2 separate regions of the Homo sapiens genome follow, and region 2 is linked to region 1. The links are contacts of gene promoters, found by promoter capture Hi-C in human tissues and cell types (Jung and others, 2019). All regions are on one chromosome and are shown on one strand. The core of a region is centred on a gene start or on the middle of the fragment in contact, and the rest is flanking DNA. Distances in the headings are between cores, read along the strand shown.

Evidence for each region. The method cuts DNA at HindIII sites, captures the fragments that hold promoters and counts their contacts. A contact is called where the count stands out against the background at its distance.
Region 2: a contact is called between a fragment that was not itself captured here and the fragment with the promoter of STK25 in region 1, in 1 of the 25 tissues and cell types used here (dorsolateral prefrontal cortex).

What each region holds. Positions count from the first base shown.
Region 1 is chr2:241,505,923-241,512,099 of GRCh38, reverse strand. It overlaps STK25 (serine/threonine kinase 25), which reads left to right and starts at 3,516. Exons shown (of 12, transcript NM_001271977.2): 1 at 3,516-3,657; 2 at 3,965-4,094. The coding sequence starts at 4,065. It overlaps LOC107985788 (a long non-coding RNA gene), which reads right to left and starts at 3,228. Exons shown (of 2, transcript XR_001739177.2): 1 at 3,003-3,228; 2 at 2,205-2,662. RefSeq lists silencers at 3,112-3,881, 4,162-4,211 and enhancers at 4,642-4,691, 5,847-6,177. The HindIII fragment of the contact is 21,130 bases long and covers 1-6,177 here.
Region 2 is chr2:240,840,153-240,846,665 of GRCh38, reverse strand. No RefSeq gene overlaps it. Among named protein-coding and RNA genes, the nearest start is that of KIF1A, 23 kb to the right of the region's middle. The HindIII fragment of the contact is 3,458 bases long and covers 1-3,333 here.

The DNA.
Region 1 (6,177 bases), core at 2,267-4,766:
GGCCAGCCTAAATCCCACCTTACAGGGGTGTCTTTTTCTGGAATACCCCCACATTATTTATGCTAGGAAACCCTGTTGCTGTATGATTTGTGTGTGTGAGGGGATGGAGGGATGAGGAGTGGGAAGCTGTTGACTCATGCACATACCTGTCTCCATGGTGTCTCTGCTGTCGACCTCCTCTCCCCCAGCTCCAGCCCCTCACCTTTCCAGGGCTCTGTATCCAATGGAGGGGGCTCAAGTGAAGGCTTCTTCCCCCCATTTCACTGTCACCAAGCTTTACCTCTGGACATTTGTGGCACTCACCTGCTGGGAACCCACTCCTTTCTCTGAACAGTTTCAGGGTTTAGCCTCCCTTCCTGAGCCCCTTTTGACAAGTTATCAGGTCCCTGGTAGGGAAAGAAGAACAAGCTCAAGTGCCCGATCTCTTATCTTAATCAGAAGGGGAACCCAGTTCTAATCCAGATGCTGCTATGCTGTCCTCTTTCTGGGTTTCATTTCCTTGTCTGTCAAACCAGAGGGTGGCTTGGCCAACTCACACCTGACCCAGGTTGACACAAAGTCCAACTCCAGCTTCTCTCCACTCCTACCTGAATTCCCAGCAGCATACAAACAGGACTCAGGAGACCTGGGTTCAATCCTGTCTTTGCCATATTCTGGTTGTGGCCTTGGGCACGTCCCTTTACCTCTTAGTTATCCCTTGCCTGCCTCGGAGGGCTGTTGCAGTCACCAAGTGACTGGACCTGAAGGTAAGCTGCCCAAGGGGCTCAATTGTGAGTGTTCCCTCCTCCCACCCAAGGTCAGCCTTGTCAATAATAAACACAGTGACTCTCTGAGCACCTGCCAAGGGCCAGGCCCGCCACATACGGTGTTATTCTCACAATCTACAAGAAAAGTACTATTAGCGCCATATTCCCAAGGAAGAAAGTGAGTGCCCAGAGAAAAAACTAAAATTTCTTGGAGGTGAAAAATAGAGACCAGGCTCAGTGGCTCACACCTGTACTCTGAAAGCACTTTGGAAGGCTGAGGCGGAAGGATCACTTGAGCTCAGGAGTTTGAGAACAGCCTGGACAGCATGGGGAGACCCCGTCTCCACAAAAATTAGCTGGGTGTGGTGACATGTGCCTGTGGACCCAGCTACATGGGGAGCTGAGGTGGGAGAACTGCTTGAGCCTGGGAGGTCGAGGTTGCAGTAAGCCAAAATTGCCGCACTGCATTCCAGCCTGGGTGGCAGAGTAAGACCTTATCTGGGAAAAAAAAAGAAAGAATCACTGAAAAGAAAATTTTTATATGAAAGTTGAAAGATAAAACCGAAGAATAAGGCCGAGCGTGGTGGCTCATGCCTGTAATCCCAGCACTTTGGGAGGCAGAGGTGGGCAGATCACGAGGTCAGGAGTTTGAGACTAGCCTGACCAACATGACCAACATGATGAAACCCCGTCTCTACTCAAAATACAAAAATTAGCCGGGGGTGGTGGCGCACGCCTATAATCCCAGCTACTCAGGACGCTGAGGCAGGAGAATCGCTTGAACCTGGGAAGCGGAGGTTACAGTGAGCCAAGATCGCACCACTGCACTCCAGCCTGGGAGACAGAGTGAGACTCCGTCTCAAAACAAACACACAAACAAACAAAAACCCCGAAGAATAACAGAAGTATACAACAACAAAAAAGAAATGGAAAACAAGAGAAACGGGATGAAGGGCCTGGAAGGTCAATGCAGGAAAAGACATGGTGATGATCACGTCCGGACGGCAGCTTAGCAAGACAGCAGCCAGGAGCAAAGGGTTAACAATTGGCCAAAAGCAGGCAAAGGCTGAAAAACTCTTCTAGGCACTTTTATTAATTTGTTTTTTGAGGCAGAGCCTTGCTCGGTCTCCCAGGCTGGAGTACTGTGGCATGATCTTGACTCACAGCAACCTCCAACTCCCAGGTTCAAGCGATTCTCCTGACTCAGCCTCCCTAGTAGCTGGGACTACAGGCACGCACTACCATGCCTGGCTAATTTTTGTATTTTTAGTAGAGATGAAGTTTCACCATGTTGGCTAGGCTGGCCCCGAACTCCCAACCTCAAGTGATCTGCCTGCCTCAGCCTCCCAAAGTGCTGGGATTACAGGTGTGAGCCACTGCTCCCAGCCTCTTCTAGGCACTTCGGAAAAGTGCAGCGATTACTGACCACACGAAGGCCAGAGATGCAGCAGGCATCTATTTACATGCATTAAATACATATATTATCTTCATGCATTTACACATTCATTCAACAAACATTACTGAGCGCCTGCCGTGGGCTGGCATGGTCCTGGGCACAGCTCCGCTTGCAGGAAGCCCACTTTCTCCTGGGGAGTCAAAGCACAAACAAAGCCAAGTCAGTACGTAAAGAAGCAGGGGTGATGAGAGATGCGGACCCAGGAGGGGTTCAAGGGGCTGTCCTGGACGCATGACAGGGAAGCATAGCTTCTTAAAGGACTCGGCAGTGCACCATGAGAAGACACGCACCAGGGAGCAGAGAGAAACGCCAGAACCCTCTCGAAGAAGGAGGGATGTGAGGAGGTCAGGATAGTCACCTGTGCTGAGCCATCATGGAGAGTGAGGGCCTGTAAGGGTGGACACAGTATGCAGGAGGGACAAATCTTCCTCACCGGACAGGTGGGGATCCCTGCGGTGCACTAGGGGAATGCACACAGGGGGCACTATGACCTGGCGGCCCACGGGGCACGGGGACGCACCAGGTAGCCTTGGGATCTGCAAGTCCCTCCCGGACCCTGGGGAGTGCCATGACGGCTTCCAGCAGCAGTCACTGTCCTGGGCGCGTCCCGCGCTCTAGCCCAGGTGGGTCCCACAACGGTGTGACCAAGGACGTCCTATGACCACCCCTTGACAGGTAAGGAAACTGAGGCAGGAGAGGCGAAGCAACTCGCCCAAGGAATGGGCTGTGCCGGTAGCTTCTCCAAGGCCTGGTGCGCCCTGGCCTGTGCGCGTGATCCCGGGCGGGGTCTCAGTACGAACAGGGGCTTCGCGATGTGGCCAGCGCGGGCTTATCTCCGTGCCGTGACGACAAGGCTAGAAGCCTGGGCGGCCGCGGTGGATCCTCGTGGCGAGGCGGGGAGGGCGCCGGGCCTCACTGGCCCGCTCGAACCAGGGCTGCGCAGGGCAGAGCCCAAGGGAGAGGGCCGCGCGGCCGCCGTAACGTCGGAGACGACGCCTGGCAGGCGCCAGCAAACGCAGAAGACCCGCGAGGGCGAGGCAGGGAGGGCGCGACGCGACAACGACCACGTGCCCCGCCCGCCCAGGCGCGCGGCCTGCCGGGAGACGCAGTCCAAACCTTTCGGGAGCAGGACTAGGGGTCCCAGAGAGCCTCGCGGCGCGCATGCGAGCCCCGGCCCCCTCTCGCGCAGCCTGCCGGGACTTGTAGTCCAACGCCAGCAGGCTTCCGGGCCCGGAGTGGGCGGTGGGACTCGGGGTCCCAGAGAGCCGTGCGCGGGCCGCGACGCCGAGCACCGCCCTCGCCGTCGCCTCCGGGCTTTCTCCGGTCGCTGCCGCCACCACCGTTGCTTCGCGGGCTGGGAGGCCCGGGGTCCCCGGGCGAACAGAGGCTGCGGGTGGGAGCCTTCGCGGGCGCTGCAGAGCGGGCCGGGGGAGGCCGGGATGGAGCCCCGCGGAGGTGGGCGCGCTGCCGGGCGGGGCGCTTGCGGCGATTGGGGAGGGGGCAGAGGGAGGGGCCCGGGGCGGGGCTCGGTGGCGGGGACACCGGGGCGGGGGCACCGGGAGGAAGCTGCCTTGGAAGAGGTGGGGGCGGCGACGGGAGGGGCGGCGAGCCCCCGGGAGCCTGGGCGTTAGGCCCGGGCGTGGCGGGGCCCCGGCGGCCTGGGGGGTCTCCTGGGCCCCCCCCCACCCATGGAGCCCGCCGCCCCGGAGGTCGGTCTCAGATGACTGAACTGGGCACCGAGCGCCCCTGGTGTCCCTCGCAGTGGACTGACGCCGCAGGGGCGAGCTAGCCGGCTCCGCGCCTCTCCGCGGGATCCAGACGCCTCCTGGGGCTGCTGGCGGAGGGTCTGAGGCGGCGCGGCCATGGCTCACCTCCGGGGATTTGCCAACCAGGTGAGAAGGGTGCAGGTCAGGAAGACTAGCGGCCTCTCACCGAGGGGCTCCAGAGTCTCCTGGGGGTTCAGAGGGGAGCGCCACGCCGGAGCGGGCAGTGGGGTGAGGGAAGGAGCGCGCGTCGTGCGACCAGCGGAGCCGTCCTGAGGTGGGCGCAGGGCGGCCCCGGGGCTCTGCCGTGTGCCTGTGGCGTTTTGCGTGGCAGAAGCTCGCAGGCCTCTAGAAACCGAGCCCCTGGTGGCTCCGCCTGTGCGAGGGCGGTGGAGGTGCGTGAAGAGACACCGGCGCAGGGACGGGGCGCTGCCCCCAGCGCGGGGCGGGAACCTCATGTCAGCATCCGAAGGCAGTGGAAGGTCGGGGGCCACCCTGCGGCCTCGGCCTGGGCCGCGGGTCATTCTGGCCGTGTTGGGCTGGGCAGGGGCTGTAGGGGAGACCCTGGCGGGCGCTGAGGGGCTGAGATTGTGGAGAAGCAGATCTGAGTGGCCGGTGTGCAGGGAAAGCAGAGAACACGTGTGTGCTTTGGCCCAGGGGAGGGTGAAAAGGCTGCTCTGTCAGGACCGTTTAACCCCTGCGACGGGCGGTTGCCCGAACATGAGACTCATCTTTCTTCTTTAAAGAAGTCGTTTCCACTATGGAGCCACCTTTAAGCGTCTGGTGGGACAGCCTCGGAGGGAGCCACTACGGCGAGCCCTTAGCCTGGAATGAGGACCAGCTGCTGGTGCCAAAGGGCTTGCCGGGGAAGGAGGGTGGGGTCAGCCAACCTGGGGCCTGGGGACTTGCATTCTCTACCCCTCCCCACTTTTTTGACTCTGGCCGCTGGGTTTTCTTACATCTTAGCTGTTCGGTTTTATTCTCCTTGATGCCTTGGCTCTACCTAAGGCGTTGGAATCGCCGCTAAAATGTGTGGCCCTCCTTGTTCACTCCTATGTGCTGAATGGAGAGTTGGGCCTGCAGTGGAACAGGAAGGGCGTCTGTTCGCGTAGGGGCAGGAACTGGAGTCAGGGCTGCTTTGGAGGAAACCGGACCAGCCTAGAGACCCGGAACACCATGTGCAGCTGTTGGGCCAGGCAACCTGGACCTGCGTGGTCACAGATGAGACTGGGGCTTGCTGACTGTTGCTGAATTAAGCTAACAGATTTTTGGTTTGCTTTTGGCATTCTGTATCTGGTAACTTACATGACTAAGGTGCTGGGAGAAAAATCTGCCACCAGTTTATTTTACTTTATTTTTATTTTTTTGAGACGGAGTTTCGCTTTTGTTGCCCAGGTTGGAGTGCAATGGTGCAATCTCAGCTCACTGCACCCTCTGCCTCCCAAGTACAAGCGATTCTCCTGTCTTGGCCTCCCAAGTAGCTTGGATTACAGGCATGCGCCACCATGCCCAGCTAATTTTGTATTTTTAGTAGAGACGGAGTTTCACCATGTTGGTCAGGCTGGTCTCAAACTCCTGACCTCAGGTGATCTGCTTGCCCTGGCCTCCCAACGTGCTGGGATTACAGGCATGAGCCACCGCGCTCGGCCACCAGTTTATTTTTAAGAACTGCAGAAATAACTCCTTTGGGTCACAGGATGAGAAATTGGAGCTCCGAGGTGCCCTGTAACTGTGTGCTATTGGTTCTTGGTGCGATCGCACACAGGGAAGGGAGTGCGGGCACATTGGAGAAGGGATTCCAAAGGTAGGAAGCTCCTTTTGTCCTTTTAGGGATCCCTTTGTCCCAGCCTGGATGATGAGAGACTTGACTTCATATAGTGGCAGAAAACCTGAGGGGCTGTGGTTTTCTCCTGAGATGGTTGCCATGGTGTCCTGTGGACCTGTGGGGCAGCCCCTTTGTGGGAGAGTGGGGCGCGTTCCCCCCATAGCCTGTGCTCCTGCCTTAGACTTCTCCCCTCTACCTGGCCAGTTCCTGCCTGGCCCTGGAGGGCCCGAATGGCTGTGGGGTGCCAGAGCACTGTATCACCACTCAGCTATGTGTGCTGGGTCATTCCCCTTGTTTTGTGGGGCAACACTGACAGCAGACACATTGGCAAGTGGAGGCCCCAGACCTGGCAGCCCCAGGGCTAATGTGGAGAACAGGTGTCCACCG
Region 2 (6,513 bases), core at 355-2,854, 660 kb after region 1:
GGTGGGGACACAGAGCCAAACCATATCATTCCACCCCGGCCCCTCCCAAATCTCGTATCCTTACATTTCAAACACAATCATGCCCTCCCAATAGTCCCCCAAAGTCTTAGCTCATTTCAGCATTAACACAAAAGTCCAAGTCCAAAGTCTCATGTGAGACAAGGCAATTCCCTTCTGTCTATGAGCTTGTAAAATCAAAAGCTTGTTAGTTACTTCCTAGATACAATGAGGGTACAGGAATTGGGTAAATACACCCATTCCAAAAGGGAGAAATTGACCAAAACAAAGGGGCTACAGGCCCCATGCAAGTCTGAAATCCAACAGGGCAGTCATTAAACCTTAAAGTTCCAGAATGATCTCCTTTGACTCCATGTTTCACATCCAGGTCATGCTTATGCAAGAGGTGGTCTCCCATGGCCTTGGGCAACTCTGCCCCTGTGGCTTTGCAGGGTACAACACCTCCCCTCCCCCCACCTGGCTGCTCTCATGGGCTGGCTATGGAGTGTCTGCAGCTTTTCCAGATGTACAGCGCAAGGTGTCGGTGGATCTACCATTCTGGAGTTTGGAAGATGGTGGCCTTATTCTCACAGCTCCACTAGGCAGTGCCCCAGTGGGGACTCTGTGTGGGGGCTCTGACCCCACAGTCCCTTCTGTACTGCCCTAGTAGAGGTTCTCCATGAGGGCTCTGCCCTACAGCAAACTTCTGTCTGGACATTCTGGAAATTCCATACATCCTCTGAAATCTAGGGATTGGGAGCTCCCCAAACCTCAATTCTTGACTTCTGGGCACCCACAAGCCCATTAGCACATGGAAGCTGCCAAGGTTTAGGGCTTGCACCCTCTGAAGCAATGGCCTGAGCTGTATGTTGGCTCCTTTTAGCCATGGCTGGAGTGGCTGGGACGAAGGGCACTAAGTTCCAAGGCTGCACACAGCAGGGGGGCCCTGGACCCAACTCAGGAAACCCTTTTTCCCTCCTAGGCCTCTGGGCCCTTGATGGAAGGGGCTGCTGTGAAGGTCTCTGACATGCTCTGGAGACATTTTCCTCATTGTCTTGGTGATTAACACTCAGCTCTTCATTACTTATGCAAATTTCTGAAGCTGGCTTGAATTTCTCCCCAGAAAATGGGTTTTCTTTTCCATTGCATCATCAGGCTGCAAATTTTTCAAACTTTTATGCTCTGCTTCCTCTTGAACAGTTTGCCACTTAGAAATTTCTTCCACCAGATACACTAAATCATCTCTCTCAAGTTCAGCTTTCCATAGATCTCTAGGGCAGGGTCAAAATGCCCCCAGTCTCTTTGCACAGCAAGAGTAACCTCTATTCCCATTCCCAACAAGTTCCCCATCTCCATCTGAGATCACCTCAGCCTGGACTTCGTTGTCCATATCACTATTGGCATTTTGGTCAAAGCCATTCAATAATTCTCCAGGAAGTTCCAAACTTTCCCACATCTTTCTGTCTTCTGAACCCTCCAAGTCTCTAGGAAGTTCCAAACTTTCCCATATTTTCCTGTCTTCTTCTGAGCCCTCCAAACTGTTCCAAACTCTGCCTGTTACCCAGTTCCAAAGTTGTTTCCACATTTTTGGGTATCTTTACAGAAGCACCCCACTCTCTGTGGTAAGAGTTTACGATATTACTCCCTTCCCATGCTGCATTAAAGAACTGCCTGAGACTGGGTAATTTACAAAGGAAGGAGGTTTAATTGATTTACAGTTCCACAGGGCTGGGGAGGCCTCAGGAAATTTACAATCATGGTGGAAGGGGAAGCAAACATGTCCTTCTTCACATGATGGCAGGAAGGAGAAGGAATGCCAAGTGAAGCCCCTTATAAAATCATCAGATCTTGTGAGAACCCACTCACTATCAGGAGAACAGCATTGCAGAAACCACTCCTGTGATTCAATTATCTGCACTTGGTTCCACCCTTGACATGTGGTGGTTATTAAAATTCAAGGTAAGATTTGAGTGGGGACACAGAGCCAAACCATATCAGTCTGTCACCCTTAAAGGCTAAAAGCAGCATTTACCATTTGCTAGCTGTGAGGTCCCCTAACCTGGTGAGCCTGGCCTCCTCTTCTCCCCCTCCCAAAACCTGCCATGCCACTGGGATCTGTTTTTGGCCGTGCTTGAGCCTCCATTCTTTCTGTAACCTGTTCAAAGAAAAACCAAACTCCATAAAATATTTAAAGAGGTTTCTTCTGAGCCAATATGAGTGACCATGGCCCGGGGAACAGTCTCAAGAGTTCCTGAGAAAGTGTGCCCAGGGAGTCGGGTCACCGCTCGGTTTTATACATTTTAGGGAGACAGACGTTACAGGCAAAGACATAAATCAATACATGGAAGGTGTAAATTGCCTAAAGAGATGGGACATCTCCAAGTTGGGGTGCTTACAGGTCACAGATGGATTCAAAGATTTTCTGATTGACAATTGGTTGAAAGAGCTAGACTTTGTTTAAAGACTTGAAGTCAGTAGAAAGAAAGGCTTGGGTTAAGATAAGGGGGTTGTGGAGAGCACGGTTCTTGTTATGCAGTTGAAGCCTCCCAGGTCGCAGTCTTCAGAGAGAATAGAAGGTGAATGTCTGTTTTCAGACTTTGAAAGTGTCAGACCCTCATTTAATCTCCCTTAGATCCGGGAAAGGACTAGAAAGGAAGGCCTGGCTGCATTAATGGAGATTCTCTACAGATGCAAATTTCCCCCACAAAAGATGGCTTTGCAGGGCCATCTCAAAATATGTCAAAGAAATATAGTTTGGAGTAAAATACTTTTATTTCCTTCAGGGTCTGCCATCTGTCGTGTGAGGTTACACCAGAGTCAAGCTGGAATTTGGTGTCTTATTGCCACAAGGAGTCTGCTCTATCACTCTCATGATCTCTACTTTAAGGTTAGTGCTGCTCAGCTGTGCCTAAATCCCAAAACGGAGGGAGAATAAGGAGGTATGTCTGACCCCACTTCCTGTCATGGCTGGGAATTCAGCTTTTCAGGTTTCAGTGGAGTCTCCTTGGTCAAGAGGGGGTTGTTAGATATAAGTTCTAAATTTCTAGTCAAAGAATCAATATGTCAGTATGTTCAATTCTTTGCCTTCTACTGTTAAACTTAACTTCCTCATAAAGCAACATTTTCAATTACCTACTTCACCCAGACTCATTCCGATCACCTGCTCCCCCTGACTCATTCCCATCACCTGCTCCCCCGACTCATTCTGATTACCTACTTCACCCAGACTCATTCCGATCACCTGCTCCCCCCGACTCATTCCGATCACCTGCTCCCCCTGACTCATTCCAATCACCTGCTCCCCCGACTCATTCTGATTACCTACTTCACCCAGACTCATTCCGATCACCTGCTCCCCCCGACTCATTCTGATTACCTACTCCACCCTGACTCATTCCGATCACCTGCTCCCCCGACTCATTCTGATTACCTACTTCACCCAGACTCATTCCGATCACCTGCTCCCCCGACTCATTCTGATTACCTGCTCCCCCTGACTCATTCCGATCACCTGCTCCCCCTGACTCATTCCAATCACCTGCTCCCCCGACTCATTCTGATTACCTACTTCACCCAGACTCATTCCGATCACCTGCTCCCCCTGACTCATTCCGATCACCTGCTCCCCCTGACTCATTCCAATCACCTGCTCCCCCGACTCATTCTGATTACCTACTTCACCCAGACTCATTCCGATCACCTGCTCCCCCCGACTCATTCTGATTACCTACTCCACCCTGACTCATTCTGATTACCTGCTCCCCCGACTCATTCTGATTACCTACTTCACCCAGACTCATTCCGATCACCTGCTCCCCCCGACTCATTCTGATTACCTACTCCACCCTGACTCATTCCGATCACCTGCTCCCCCGACTCATTCTGATTACCTACTTCACCCAGACTCATTCCGATCACCTGCTCCCCCGACTCATTCTGATTACCTGCTCCCCCTGACTCATTCCGATCACCTGCTCCCCCGACTCATTCTGATTACCTACTTCACCCAGACTCATTCCGATCACCTGCTCCCCCCGACTCATTCTGATTACCTATTCCACCCTGACTCATTCCGATCACCTGCTCCCCCCGACTCATTCTGATTACCTGCTCTGTCATAACCATTTTTCCCGCCAAAGCACTCACCCCATCACTCCTTTTAAATTAGCCGGTCAGAATTAGTTTAGCCTGTGCGGTCTAACCCTAGCCAGTAGCGGAACCACACAGCAGCAGGGGCCACATCCTTCAGGGTTAAGACCCGCTTCCCCTCCCTTGTCCAGGTGTGCGCTCACCATTGCTCCATCTCTAAGGGTACATCCTTCTATAGCAGTAACTTACCTTGCTGAGAATTAAAAATAAAATTTTATATTCGAGTGCTATTCCTTTTGCGGCACCAAACTTTATATATATAACGGGGTCTAGTCAGTTGGTTGAAAGGGCTTAGGACTTTATTCTTGGTTTACAAATCTCAAGGTGGTATAAAAACAGCAACTATCCTGCCTTTCTTTGAGTTCTTTTTTTTTTTTTTGAGAGGGGGTCTTGCTCTATCACCCAGGCTGGAGTGTAGTGGCGCCATCTAAGCTCACTGTAGCCGCCAACCCCCAGGCTCAAGTGATCCTCCCACTTCAGCCTCCCAAGTAGCTGGGACCACAGGCACGTGCCACCAAGCCCAGCTAATTTTTTTTTTTTTTTTTTGGTAGAGATGGGGTTTCACCCAGGCTGGTCTCAAACTCCTGAGCTTAAGCCATCCACCCACCTCAGCCTCCCAAAGTGCTAGGATTACAGGCATGAGCCACCGTGCCCAGCCTCTTTGAGTTCTATTTCCCTGACTCCTGTGTACATTAATAAATTTGTATGCCTTTTCTCCTGTTAATCTGCTTTCTGTCGGTTCATTTTTTCAGGGAAACTTCAGAGGGTGAAAGGAAAGATTTTCATTCTCCCTTACAACCCCAGTAGGCTTGAAGCCTAAGGCCTCACCTAATTCCTGGTGGGACAGGAGAGAGTGCTCTATGAAGGGTCACCCCAGGCAAAAGACCTCCCTTCCTCAGAACAGACCCCCGGATTCCTTTCCCCAAAGCCCAGCCCAGACCTTCACCTGGTAGCCCTGAGGGCCAGCTCCCAGCCCACATCCCTCAGGGCCCTAGGAATGTCCTAGCCCCTCCTGGGCTGCCCCCAGATCTGGTGCCTGTGGGTGGAGAGGTGTTCTGAGGTCACAGGCCTCCCGCTGACCTCTCCCCGCAGGGCTTCGAGTCCCTGAGACTGCAGATGTGGCCCAGGAGGCTGCAAGGAGGCTGGGAGATGGGGGGACCCTGAGAATAAGTTCATTCTTGCTGGCCCGACCAGGAGCACAGGCCACAGGCAGATCCTGGAAGGAAGTGGGCCCTCCCATGCCAGATCCATCAGGGAAGGGCCGAAACCAGAAGCCCAGCTGGGAAGCTGGATTCCTGTCCATCCTAGAAGCCCAGGAGTCATGGGAATGAGCCATCGGTGTGCCCTGTCCTCCACATTTTACAGAACTCAGCCAGTCCTTGCAGCCCCTTGAGGAAATTCTGTGTTATTTCCCGTTTACAGATGAGGAAACAGAGGCATGGAACAGGGAGTGACCTATCCAAGGGTCCCTCCTGTAAACGGAGAAGAGCAGCTGGGGAGGCTGGCCTGGAGGAGATGAGGCCAGCTGGACCCAGGCACCTATGTGGCTGCACTGATGGGGCTTCAGCTTTGAGGTGGGGCTCCCTGTGCTCAGCCCAGGGGGGCATGCCTCAGGAGCATGTGTCCAGGCACCCTGAGAAGAGGCGTGTTGGCCACCCAGCGACAGCTGGATCCTCCCGGGAAGGCCACACTTCTGTGGGCACCTGGGCCTGGGTGGGGACAGCCTCCCCCATGGGGAGGGGGCCTGGGCTGTGGATCCCGAGGCACACTCGCCCTGTTGGGAGCTCCTGTCTAACCTTTCCTGTCAGTTTTAGATGCATCCCTGGTTCTAATTCTTTTTCCCAGCAGGTGGCACTGGGGAGGCTGTTTGGAGCCCTCCAGGCCTGTGAGCTCAGGCCATGGATTGCTGGGATCCTTGTCCCCTGCTGACCAGCCCAGGGAACTCGCTGTCCATGGTGTCTGCAGCTCCCCCTTACGGGTCCACACAGGGTGTCCTCCATGGGTCACGACTGCCCCTGCTGTTGCCAGGATGCCTTCTCCACACCTCCCCACTCAATTTCTCCAGTCATGGCCCAGTGATTGCACCTGGGGCTGGGGGAGACAGAATTTGCCTGGAAGAGATGCTCAGTGTGGCCAGCTCACGGCCACCAAGCCCCACGTTTGCTCTCAGAGACAGCTTTGCACACAGCGGCATTGGCGGCATCTGGACTGGCCTCTTAGCTCCCCACACGTCCTCTTGAATAACAGAGGAAAAGGGAATTGATCCCCAAACTCCTTCCTCCAAGGTCAACTTCTCTTCTGCCAAGATCTAAGGAAAGCTTCCATCTCAGCTGCTCCTGCTGCTGGTTCTGTTTCTGCAGGTCATCT